Regions from separate parts of the Homo sapiens genome. Here region 1 is linked to region 2. The links are contacts of gene promoters, found by promoter capture Hi-C in blood cells and fetal thymus (Javierre and others, 2016). All regions are on one chromosome and are shown on one strand. Each heading gives the region's core, a stretch centred on a gene start or on the middle of the fragment in contact. The rest is flanking DNA. Distances are from core to core; before and after follow the strand shown.

Evidence for each region. The method cuts DNA at HindIII sites, captures the fragments that hold promoters and counts their contacts. A CHiCAGO score of 5 or more calls a contact.
Region 1: a contact is called between a fragment that was not itself captured here and the fragment with the promoter of KCNJ12 in region 2, in 1 of 17 cell types (megakaryocytes). The highest score is 6.3, in megakaryocytes.

What each region holds. Positions count from the first base shown.
Region 1 is chr17:21,317,042-21,322,589 of GRCh38, reverse strand. No RefSeq gene overlaps it. Among named protein-coding and RNA genes, the nearest start is that of MAP2K3, 35 kb to the right of the region's middle. RefSeq lists enhancers at 3,377-4,053, 4,054-4,730, 5,068-5,548. The HindIII fragment of the contact is 1,115 bases long and covers 1,045-2,159 here.
Region 2 is chr17:21,374,890-21,380,434 of GRCh38, reverse strand. KCNJ12 (potassium inwardly rectifying channel subfamily J member 12) reads right to left here and starts at 4,078. Exons shown (of 3, transcript NM_021012.5): 1 at 3,522-4,078. The HindIII fragment of the contact is 5,395 bases long and covers 1-4,528 here.

The sequences.
Region 1 (5,548 bases), core at 353-2,852, 55 kb after region 2:
CAGCAGGTTGTCTCATGTCAGGTTCTCCCAGAAGCCGAGCCTGAGAGCAGGATTCAGGTGCAAATGTTTCCCTAGGGAGTTTCTTCCAGCTGAAACCAGCGAGGGAGCCAGGGAAAAAGAAGGAGAAGACAAGCAAGGGTTTCTTCAATTTCCATCCCTGCCGTGGCCTGAGCCCAAGGGAGCTCTGCAGCACAAATTATGCCTCTGAGTTTGTCCTGCCTTAAGGCAAGGGGCTAGGCTTTTCTGCTGCATACTTCCCTGAAGCAGGTTTGAGATGCAAGGGTTAGCAGCACAGCACAGAGCAGGCGGGGAGCTGGCTTGTCCCAGTAAGGAGGTCTGTAGGCTCTGGTCAAGGCACCAACATTACTCTATGCCCAGGAGTCCCGGACTCTTCGCAGCAGCTTTCCAGGCCCTCAGTGATTTCCACAACGTCAACCTCCCCCACCCACCTCGGCCCACCTCCTCACACCTTGGCCTAACAAGATGAATGAGTGACAGCCCCACAAACACTTCCCCAGGACCTTCAACCAGGAGTGCAATACCCCCACCCCAGCAGCCTTCGTCCCCAGGACCTCCAACCAGGCACACTAACGCCCAGGCCTTCATCCTCTGCCTCCCGGAGATTTCTGGCAGACACCACAAGACCTGGGATAGGACTGCTTAGCAAAGCATGCTGGCATTTGCCCAGAGAGGGTGTCAGGTCCCCGCCACGGGACTGAGAACGTGGAGAATCAGAGAGGGGCAGTGACTTGCCCAGGGCCACACAGCTAACAGGAGGGAGGAGCTGAGATGGTGAGGAGAGGAGAAAGCAGTGCCACAGAGAAGTCTAAAGGTGCGAGAGAAGCTGGGGGAAGTAGACCTCAGACTGTGGGGAACCACCAGCGCTGGTGTGGAGGGCGTGGTCCAGTGGGTCAGCAAGGATCCCTGTAACATCAGGCGTCATTTGCCGAGCACTTCGTCATCAGGTCCTGTTCTCCCCACCATGATTCTCAGAGGCGCTGTCTCCTTGGGTTCTCCCAGTACACTCTCAGACACTGAGAAGCTTTGGACTCAAGTAAATCCTAGGAAATACCCATAGGGAAGTGGAGAAGTGAGACAGGGAAGAGCCAACCAAGGCCATGTCATCAACAGAGCTACCGCTGGGTGCAACTGGAGCTCCATCCCTTGGAGATGGCGCAGGATATACACTTCCAAGTCTCCTCTCTCGGCTGGATGGATGCTCCTGAGGAACACCAGCCTCAGCTGGCTGGCTTTGCACTCACGCAAGCAACCTTGACCCCTCCGCTCCACTTCACAGCAACCAAACCGTGAGGGACGTGGTGACTCGCTGAAAGTCATCCACAGACAGAAGGGACCAAGTGGGCCCCAGGAGGGGGTCTGGGTACCTGGCCAGGCTCTGCCCTAGCTCCAATCAGGGCTCCAGGACTCCAAGACGGCAGGTCTGTGCCCACTTACAAGCACAGCCTGTGAAATCTCAGAGTCCCAGGACAGATGCCTCCAGCCTCCTAGCCCAAGGTTTAAGGGCAAGCCCAGCTCTGCCATGGATGTGCATCCTGAGGGACCCCACGGGGACAGATTGTAGTTGAAGGCAACTATAGGAAGCAGAATAAACTTGGGTTTGGCCCAAGAGGAGGCAGTGGAGGCAGGGACCAGGGGGACAGCATTATTCATGGAGTACCTACTGTGTGCCAGCCTGTTCCATGCTGCAGGGTTCTGTTGAAACCACCTGCAATCCTGCCAGATCCTGCCCCAATTTGCAGATGAGGAAACTGAGTCTCTGAGAGGTGCAGTGACATCTTCAAGGTCATACAACCTGGGGTGAAAGTGTCAAATTCAAGGTTGTCTGACCCAAGGGCTGGGGACAGTGGGGGCTGAAGAGGCACGGAGTAGGGCTCTGAGGGCAAACAGGTGTGATCTTGCGCTGCTGTTGTTCTTAATGCAATCAGATGACATCTCTCCCCGGCTCACAGCCCTCCAGTGACTTTTGCCCTGAATATGAAGTTCAGCCTCTCTGCCATGGCCTGCAGGGCCCGTGCCATCTGTCCTTCAACCCCTTGGTCTCTTGGGTGGCAGAAAATCCCTGCCTGCCCCAGGGGCTTTTAAATTCAAATGTAAAAAAATTAATTAATTAAATGTAATCATTTAATGGTAATTAAGCTTAACTAGTTTAAATGACTTTGCTAATTAACTTAGAGTTCACTGCTTCTCCTTAGGGAGTGATCATGGGGTGATGCTGGAAGAATGGGGGGAGCACAGCTTTCCGCGAAGGTGGGTGCCTCCTCCCTGCCTGACACCCTGGCTGAGCAGGTCCAGGTCTGTCTGAGCCCTGGTACAGCTCTGGTTCTAGAACACAACGTGGCACATAGAAGGTGCTCAGATAACACGTGCCATGGGCCAAACCCTGTGGAGAACAACCCAGATAAGGCCCTGCTGTCAAGTTCATGCTGTGCCTCCTTTTCCTTGGATGTTGTGGGAATAGGGAGCCATGGAGGGTTTGGGAGGCAGACAAGGAAAGAATTTCCTAGGCTAGTTCACAGAGCAACTCCCCCATCCCCAACCAGAGCTTGCAGCTGCTGCTGCCTCGCCAGGCCTCCCCAACTCAAGTCCCCAATAAGGCTGGCCCAGAACAGGAATAGAGCAGCCCACGGCTTCTGCGAGGACAGAGGGGGTGGCTGCAGCTAAACCTGGCTTGGCAGGTGGCTCACTGGGGCTGGGCAGAGCCTCAGCTGGGGGTAGGGACTAGGGGCAGGACGCCTGGGTTTCTGGGCTTCCCTGGCTCTGCCTCACTCTCTGGTGGCCTCAGGAGGGGTCAGAGCCTCGCTGAGCCTCTGTAACCTCCAGGAGAAGCCGGCTGCCCTGGGCGTGAAGATACACAAGCTCTGATAAACATAGTACAGCCAGTGTATATATAGACCCTCCCACCTGGTTTCCAAAAGGATTTGCAACAGCTTTCACAAGAGGCAAAGAAATGAGCATTGAGAGTGAGCCAGGGTTTACACATGGGCCCCTCACGTCACAGGCCTGGGGAACTAGAACAGGGAAAAGAAGATGGAACCCAGATCCCTCCAGGAATCGCGTCTGTATGGGAGTGAGCTCCCCATCAGGGCAGGTATGCAAGCAGAGGCCAGCAGGCCTTGGTGGGGGTGTGGTTGAGAGGATTGGTGCATCAGGGAGAGGTGTGGTCAGATGCGAAGCCCCTGTTGGAAGATGAGGTGACTGGTCCTGCCTGCCCACCACAGCCCCTGCCCACAGGGAAACCAGGATGAGATAATGCTGGTGTTGGGGGCCTGTATTCATCTGTTTCATTGTTGCTATAACAAAATACCACAAACTGGATGATTTCTTCTTCATTCTTTTCTTAAATTGAGACAGGGTCTCAATCTGTCACCCAGGCTGGAGTGCAGTGGCAATCACCGCTCATTGCAGCCTCGAACTCCTGGGCTCAGGCAATCCTCCCACTTCAGCTCCTGGAGTAGCTGGGACTACAGACATGCACCACCACACCTGGCTTTTTTGTACAGATGAGGTGTTGCTATGTTGCCCCAGCTGGTCGTGAGCTCCTGGCCTCAAGCGATCCGCCCGCCTTGGCCTCCCAAAGTGCTAGGATTACAAGTGTGAGCCATGTGCCCAGCCCAGACTGGGTACTTTCTAAACAACAGAAATTTCTCAGGGTTCTGGAGGCTGGGAAATCAAGATCCAGGCCGGCATCTGACAAGGCCTCCCTGCTGTGTCCTCCCATGGCTGAAGGAAGGCCGAAAGGCAAGAGAGTGCTGGAGGCAGCAGGGGAGGGCAAAACGCCCTTTTATTACAACCAACCCCCTCGGTAACTAACCCACTGGGAGATGGCTGGCAGCATTCATCCATTCAGGAGGGCAGGCCCCCAGGATCTAATCCTGCTGTGAGGCCCCACCTCCCAACACAGCAGCTTGGGGGACATATTCAATCCTTCCGGCCCCTGCCGATTCCCTGGGGGAAGAGGGACTTGACCACAGTTTCGGGGCTGCTGGAGCCTGAGCCGCCAGGTGGGCAGCACGGGCCTCCTTGGGCTCCGCCCTCAGAAGCAGAGCTCGGCCCCGAGGGAGGGCATGGGAGCGGGAGCGCAGCCGGGACGCTAACCCCCGGCACGGGTGCTGCCTGCTGTTTGACTTGGAGCTCCTGGCTTCCCTTCTCTGAGGTGCAGAGTCCTCAGCCAGCACAACGCGCCTATCGGCTCAGTATCGGCTCGCTCCTGGAAAGCCTTCCCAGAGCAGACCCCCGGAATAAACGGAATGGCAGCACTGTCCCCAGACCACCTCCCGCACAGCCCTGCTGCCTGCTGCCTGCGCTGGGCCTTGCGGCAGCCTTCCTGCACCTGCCCTGTCTCCTGTGAGCAAGGCCGGCTCCTCCTGGTCTTGCGGGGGAGGCGGCCAGTGGGCAAGAATGAAAATGAATAAATGTGAAGAAAGTGCGGCAGGACAAGTGTGGTCAGGGAGGCATCTGAGCAGACCCCAAAGCGGGAGCACATCCGGGGAAGAGCGTTCCGGGAGGAGAACAAGACAGCTCCTGCAGAGGCCCTGCACCGCCAGGCTCGGGGTGAAGCGCAGGGAGCCAGGCACAGGGTACAGGGGAGGCAGGGGTGGGCGCCCGGGGTGGGGCACTGTGGACCATGAGGAGGCCCCCACCGAAGACGGTAGCTGCAGCAGGGATCTGGAGGAGAGGCTTCACGCCCTGGCCTCTAGAAGGGAATTCGCCAAATCCTCCCTCCGCAGCCTCCCTGCTCCTGAGCAGGCCTGTCTGCTGCATTTTTTTCTTTTTTCTTTTTTTTTTTTTTTTTGAGACGGAGTGTTACTCTGCCCCCCAGGCTGGAGTGTAGCACCTCGATCTCAGCTCACTGCAACCTCTGCCTCCCAGGTTCAAGCGATTCTCTTGCCTCAGCCTCCCAGATAGCTTGGATTACAGATGTGCGCCACCATGCCCGTCTAATTTTTGTATTTTTTTAAGTAGAGACGCAGTTTCACCATCTTGGCCAGGCTGGTCTCGAACTCCCGACCTCAGGTGATCCACCTACCTCAGCCTCCCAAAGTGCTGGGATTACAGGCGTGAGCCAACACGCCCGGCCTGTCTGCTGCAGTTTTAATGCTGCCTGATGAGGAGGCTCTCACGGCTGTAATTGAACAAAGTCTACATGCCTCTGCCATCTCCCAGTCCAGAGACTCATTAATCCCGGGCCTGGAAGAGGCGCCTGCCCGGACCCTGCTGCCTGACAGGAAATGCGGGCGTCCGGCCTCGGGGGAGGGGGGGGCGGCCGCTCCCCATCCCCATTCCCCCACCTCAGGGACAGGGAACAGGGGAGAGGGGCCCTGCCGCTTGAGACCTCCACGGGTAGTATAAACTGTCAAGGGCCTGTGCTTTGTAAATGTTAGTGACCTGCGCACTGGCTTCCGCACTCTGATGGCTGGACACGCTCTGTAAAAGCCAAAGGGTCCCATAAATGGCAAGGGAACTGCAAACGACTGGGGCTGCAGTCGTGCGCGGAGGAGCCTGCTCTCTGTGAAGGGCTGCGGCATCC
Region 2 (5,545 bases), core at 2,829-5,328:
TAGTGAGATCCCTGAGGGCAGGGGCTGGGTCTCCCCGTATGCAATGCCCATTGATTAAGCACTTCTGTATGGCTACCCAGCACAGGGGCCACAGCTAGGCAACAGGGCCTGGGGTCTCCAGCCCCAGAACTCAGCCCCCACAGCTCTCACCAGCACAGCAAGGCCTCTGTGGCTGGAAGAAGCAGTCCAGACATGGAATCATCGAGCATTTACTGGGCACCTACTCTGTGCCAGGGCTTAACTAGGTCCTAGGAATACAGCTCCCGGGAGCTGGGATGGCATGCAGGCCTCAGGCCCTGTGTGGGACCTGCCTGGTGGTAAGGCAGGGAGAAAGCTAGCCTGGCAGTCAAATGCCCCTGAGGGGTGTGTCTGTGGAATGGGGGAAGGTGCAGTTCTGTCCCTGGGAAAGCACCAGGGCTCTGGGTCTGAGCCCCACAGGCTGGTGCCTCCAGTGCCTCCCTGGGCCTCCAATCCCTGTCTGCACAATAGAGCTAATGCCACCCTCTGCACTGGCAGGCCATTAGGAAATTAAGTCAGCTGACCCAGGGCTGGGTCCTTGGCCAGTGCCCAGCGGGGGCTCTGGTCCTGCCCCGAGCCCAGCACCTCAGAAAACCCACCTGCCTCTGCCAGGCCCCCCCCCACCCCCAACCCCATGGTGCCTCTGAAGCTCTGGCCAACCTGCACACGGCCCAGTTTCAGGCCAGCTCTCTTTCATCTTCAGCCTTTCCCTGCTGCCGTGTCCCCATCACGCTGCCAGTTCCCGGCACAGCCATCCCGTGGGGCTGAGCCCCCACCCACCGCACCTTCCATGTGGCCAGCCAAGCCTCCACCCCTCCTGCTGCCCGCAAGCTGCCCCCTCCCTGACTCTCCTCCACGCTAGCCGGTGGCAGGGCTCCAAGGGCAGGCCCGGGGAGGGGCAGGTGTACCCATGTGTCGCTCACAGTAAAGCCCTGGCCAGGGCCCAGCCACAGGCACCAGCTGCACCTGTTGGAGGAAGGGCCCAGCCCAGAGCTGGGCCTGGGAGCAGGGGGGGTGAGGGTGGCCACTGGGTGGGCACCGTGTGTACCAGTAGCCTTCTGCCTGGGGACCTGGCGAGGGCCACAGAGGTTGATGACAGTAATGATGCACTCACTTCCGCCCCAGCCATATGCCAAGGCCTCCGGGTGCCACGCTTGGTACTGCCAACTGTGGCCCAGGGTACCGGAGGCCTGGCTAGGCAGAGAAAACTGCCCATAGGCAGAACCGGCCCCAGTGCTGCAGAGCTGCAGGTGCTGCTGCTGCTGTTACTCCTGTTATCACTGCTGTCATTATTATTTTGCTGTTGCAGGGCCACTCAGTGTTACTTTGTCCTGCTTCAAGGAGACCCAGGGATGGGGACACCATGGCCCTGGGGCAGGAAGGCTGGTGGGGTAAGCGCCTGGCCTGGAAAGAGCTAGGTGAAGGCATCTGTCCAAACCCAACCCACTGCATGGTTTTAGGCAATACCCCTCCACCACTTCCCAGGCACCTCTTCCTTCCAGCACAGTTGAGGCACATTCCTGGAGGGGTCCCCTCCGGGGCAGCCTGGAAACCTTATGGGGTTTTGACGGGGTAGCTGCAGGGGGAGTGTCCAGAGATGGACTGACAGCTCAGGTCCTGCCCCTCCCAGAGAAGGCTCCACCCCCTTCAGTGCTGGGGATGAGGGGTGTCAGCCATGCCCTCCCCTGGGAGGGGAAAAAGGAGGTGATAGAGGACTTGGAGCCCCTACCTGCCAGCTCTGGGTCAACAGCCAGCATTTACAGACTGCCTACTGTATGCCTACAGCGGCCCTCCAGTGGAGAAGAGGGGTGTCCCTGTGGCCCAGCACACTGGAGCCACCCTCCTCGTCTCCAGGGTGCTCGAGTGAGTGCCCTCCGCCCTCACTCCCTGCTCTCTCTCAGGCGGCTTGGCCCCACCAAATGGCAGGCCCCCAGGGTCCCCCTCCTAGAGCTGCCAACCTCGGGTCCCCTGTCTGGTTGGAGGTGCCACCAGAGAACTGAGGGGCAGACTTCGCTGTGAAGTCTTTTGTTGGGGGGGGCGGTCCCAGCAGACACTGAGGGGCTCTTCTCAGAATACAGAAGGGAGTACCCCTCAAAAAGAGCGAAAGCCTCTGGTGGCGCCCAGGGCTGAGATGGACCTCCCCTCTCTGACCCTCGCCCGCCACAGGGCGGCGGTCCAGGGCGGAGCTGCGCGAGGAGGGGCCGCGGAGGTGCAGCGCAGCGCGAGGGAGGCTGGGGTCCAGCCGCGCGGCCAGGGACCGGCTCTCCTTTGGCATCTCAGAGGGGGCGAAGGCTAGGCCCAAGGCTAACGCCTTCCGGGTTCGCACCTTCCAAAGGCGGCTGCCGATTTCAGTGGCGTGTGGGCGCCTCGGCGCTCTCGGAGACGGAGCCTGTGAACCTGGGTTTGGGGCGCAGATGTGGGAGCCAGGAGGTCCCCAGCGCTTTATTGCAGGGCTCGAACCTGGGTATAGGGGAGCAAAAAAGAAACTAGAAATGGCCACAGGCAGCGCGGTACTCTAAGATGGGAACGCCCCCTGGGAAATGGGGAGGGGGAGGTCCCAGGTGCGGGCGAGTCCAGGCTGTGAGGAGGCAGGAAAACCTCCCAGAACAAGACCGTCCCCAAAGAAACACTTTGACCCCCATTCTGATCACAGGTTTTAAAATATTCACATGACATGGGCACGCTGGATCAAAACCGAGGCACAGACACTCGCTTGGGCCTCAACTCCCATCTGAACCCCCCAAGGAGCGCCCCACCCCAGCTGTCTCTGCCCATGAGCCCCTGATTCCCGCCCCGCTCCCCCAGGGCACCCGGAGAGGCCGTGCGCGCGCAGGGTGGACCCTGGCCCTGAAACCCTGGGAGCTTCTCAGCCAGCGGCCATCCCCTCGGAGATCAAGGCCGACTTCTAAAAGCAAAAGGGAGCCTCTGGACTTGGCTGACTTGCTGGCATGGAATCATTTCCAGAATATTTTTACTCCATTACAGCACGGGAGGTGAGAAAGAGACACGACTCCAAGAACCCGCAGGTCTCTGACGGGAGGCATTCTCGGGGCGGCTCATATAGCCCGGGCGCCCACCTCCGAACCCCACCTCGATCGCGGGGTCTCCGGGAAGGTCACGCGTAGGACCCGTGCCGCGCGCCAGAGTGCTTCCGCACGCTCCCTCCCGAGCCCCCTAGTGCAAACCAGTCAGAGGGGGGCCGAGGGCTCCTCAAAGTTTCCCGGAGCGCCCCCCAGGACGAAGGTTAGCCAGGAGCAAAGTTCCTTGTGGTGGTAGCCGGAGACATGGCAGGAAAAGAAAAGCTCGCAGTCAGCATTTCCTCCGATGTCTCACCAAGGGAGGGAAAAAAATAAAACGAGAGGAAGAAAACACCCTCCCGCTCCACCTTCCCTGTTGCTGCACAACCTCGTGCTAGCTCCGGGCCGGGCTAGTGGCGAGGCGCGGCCTGCGGGGAACTGGGGCCGGGCCCGGGAGGGACCATGCGCCCGCGGCCGCGCACTTACCTCGGTCAGTGGCCCGGGCGCGGCGCGCTCGGCGTCCTCCAAGCTCCGGGCGGCCGTTCCTGGCCCCGGCAGCTGCCGCGCTGGCTGCATCGCCGCCGCTGCCGCCACCGCCTCAGGGCAGCTCCCGGGGGCGCTCCATGCCGAGGGGCGCGTCTTCTCTGCAAAGCGGATCGCCCTGGTCCAGCCACGGGTCGGGGGCGCGCGCCTGGACGGCGCCCCCGGCCGCTGGGCGCTCGCTTGGGCCGGGGCGGCTGGCGTCGGTCCCTCGGTCCGGCTGTGAGCACGGCCGGCCCACCCCCTCCCCCGCCGGCTGTTATCTGATCTCGGGCAGGGCCCGGCGCGCTCCCCTACGCCCCGGCGCCCCGCACCTCCTCGCAGGCTCTGACCGCGCCAGTCCCCCTCCCCCGGCTACTGTTCCCAGGGAGGCGGCAGCAGTGGCGGTGTGGCCGGGAGAAGACGGGGAGCGAGGAATGGAGGGCGAGGAGGCGGCGGGAGGCAGAGGCTCGGCGCGCACCCAGCTCCGCGCCTCGCTCCACCGGAGCTCAGCTCGGCAACTCCTCTAACTCTCCGCGGAGAGCACGCCCGCCCCGCGCCGCGCCGCGCCGCGCAGCCGCTGCACCAGCCTACCACGGCTCCGGCCTGGCCCCGAGCCCCTCCTAGTCCCGGGCCGCCCCCTACACACACACCGCCAGCCACTTGCGCACTGGGACGCGCGCGCGCACACACACATATATATATACACACACACACACACACACACACACACACACACAGGCACGACTTCCCGGGGACATGCGCGCACACACACATACACACACATGCAGGCACGTCCGCCGGGGACACGCGCGCACGCACAGGTGCATGGCGAGCACACACACAGGCATAAACATGCAGGATACATGCCCCCACATGCATGATGTTCGCAGGGGCACATGTGCACACTCGCTCATATGTGCACATGCAGGATGGCATCTGCACGTGTGCATACGCACACACAGGTCTAAGCTTGTGCATTCCCACAGAGCCCTTTTCCCCTGCACACCAGGCACGCACCCTCTACACACACCATCCCACCCTAATAGCATTTTTCTCCTCTCCATCTTGAGCTGCTTGGCTTCTCCCATCTCCTGCCTTCTCTGTGCTCCTCCCTGGACCTCTCTCTGCCGACCGGATCCCCATGTGACCCCCTTCTCTTTCGAGCCCCTGTCTCTGGAGGCTCAGGCTTTCTTCCCAACCTGTCCCCAAATGCCCTGCCCTCCCAGCTTTCTGAGGCCTATTGTCTGGGCCTCATATCTCTGAGCCTCCCGCAGGGGCCAAGTCTTTCATCCTGGCAGACAGACCTGCTCGCCTGGACACTGACCCAGGGGAACTCCATTTTGTCACCAGTCTGACCCCCAGCTCGGCCCTAGGGCCTCAGAATTGGGCCGAGGAGGCCAGTCTGTGCCCAGAGCATGAGCCTCAAAGGGCTCCTTGGCCCCCTTGGCCTCCAGCTTCCCCTTTAATGTGAAATATAATTATGTGTCTGCACAGCAGGGAGACTGGCTGCAGGATTCTAACCGAGGAGGACGGCTCTCTGGCCCGCACCCAGATTGCTGGCGGCTCAGAGCAGAGTGATCTGCAGGCCCCACCAGCCCTAGGATCCTGGCCCCAGGCAGCTGGTGGGTGAAATCCAGCCCAGCACTCACCGACATCAGTCTGCCCTGGGTTTGAATCCCACCTCAACTGACTAGCTGTGGGACAGGTCACTTCACCACTCAGTGCCTCTGTTTCCCTGTTGTCAGTAGAAATCACTACACTCATGGGGCTGTAGCAAGGATTAAATGAGATGAGTCTACCTAAAGTGCTTAGCACTTGACTTGGCTGGTAAAACAGCCAGGCGGAGCACTCAATATGTTCTGAGCTCTGTGCTATGGACCCAGCTAGAATTATTTCATTACCACTGCGGCCATCTGTGGTGGATAAGCTCATTGGCTCCATTTTACAGATGAAGGAACTGAGGCACAGAGGGGTGGTCACTTGCTTAA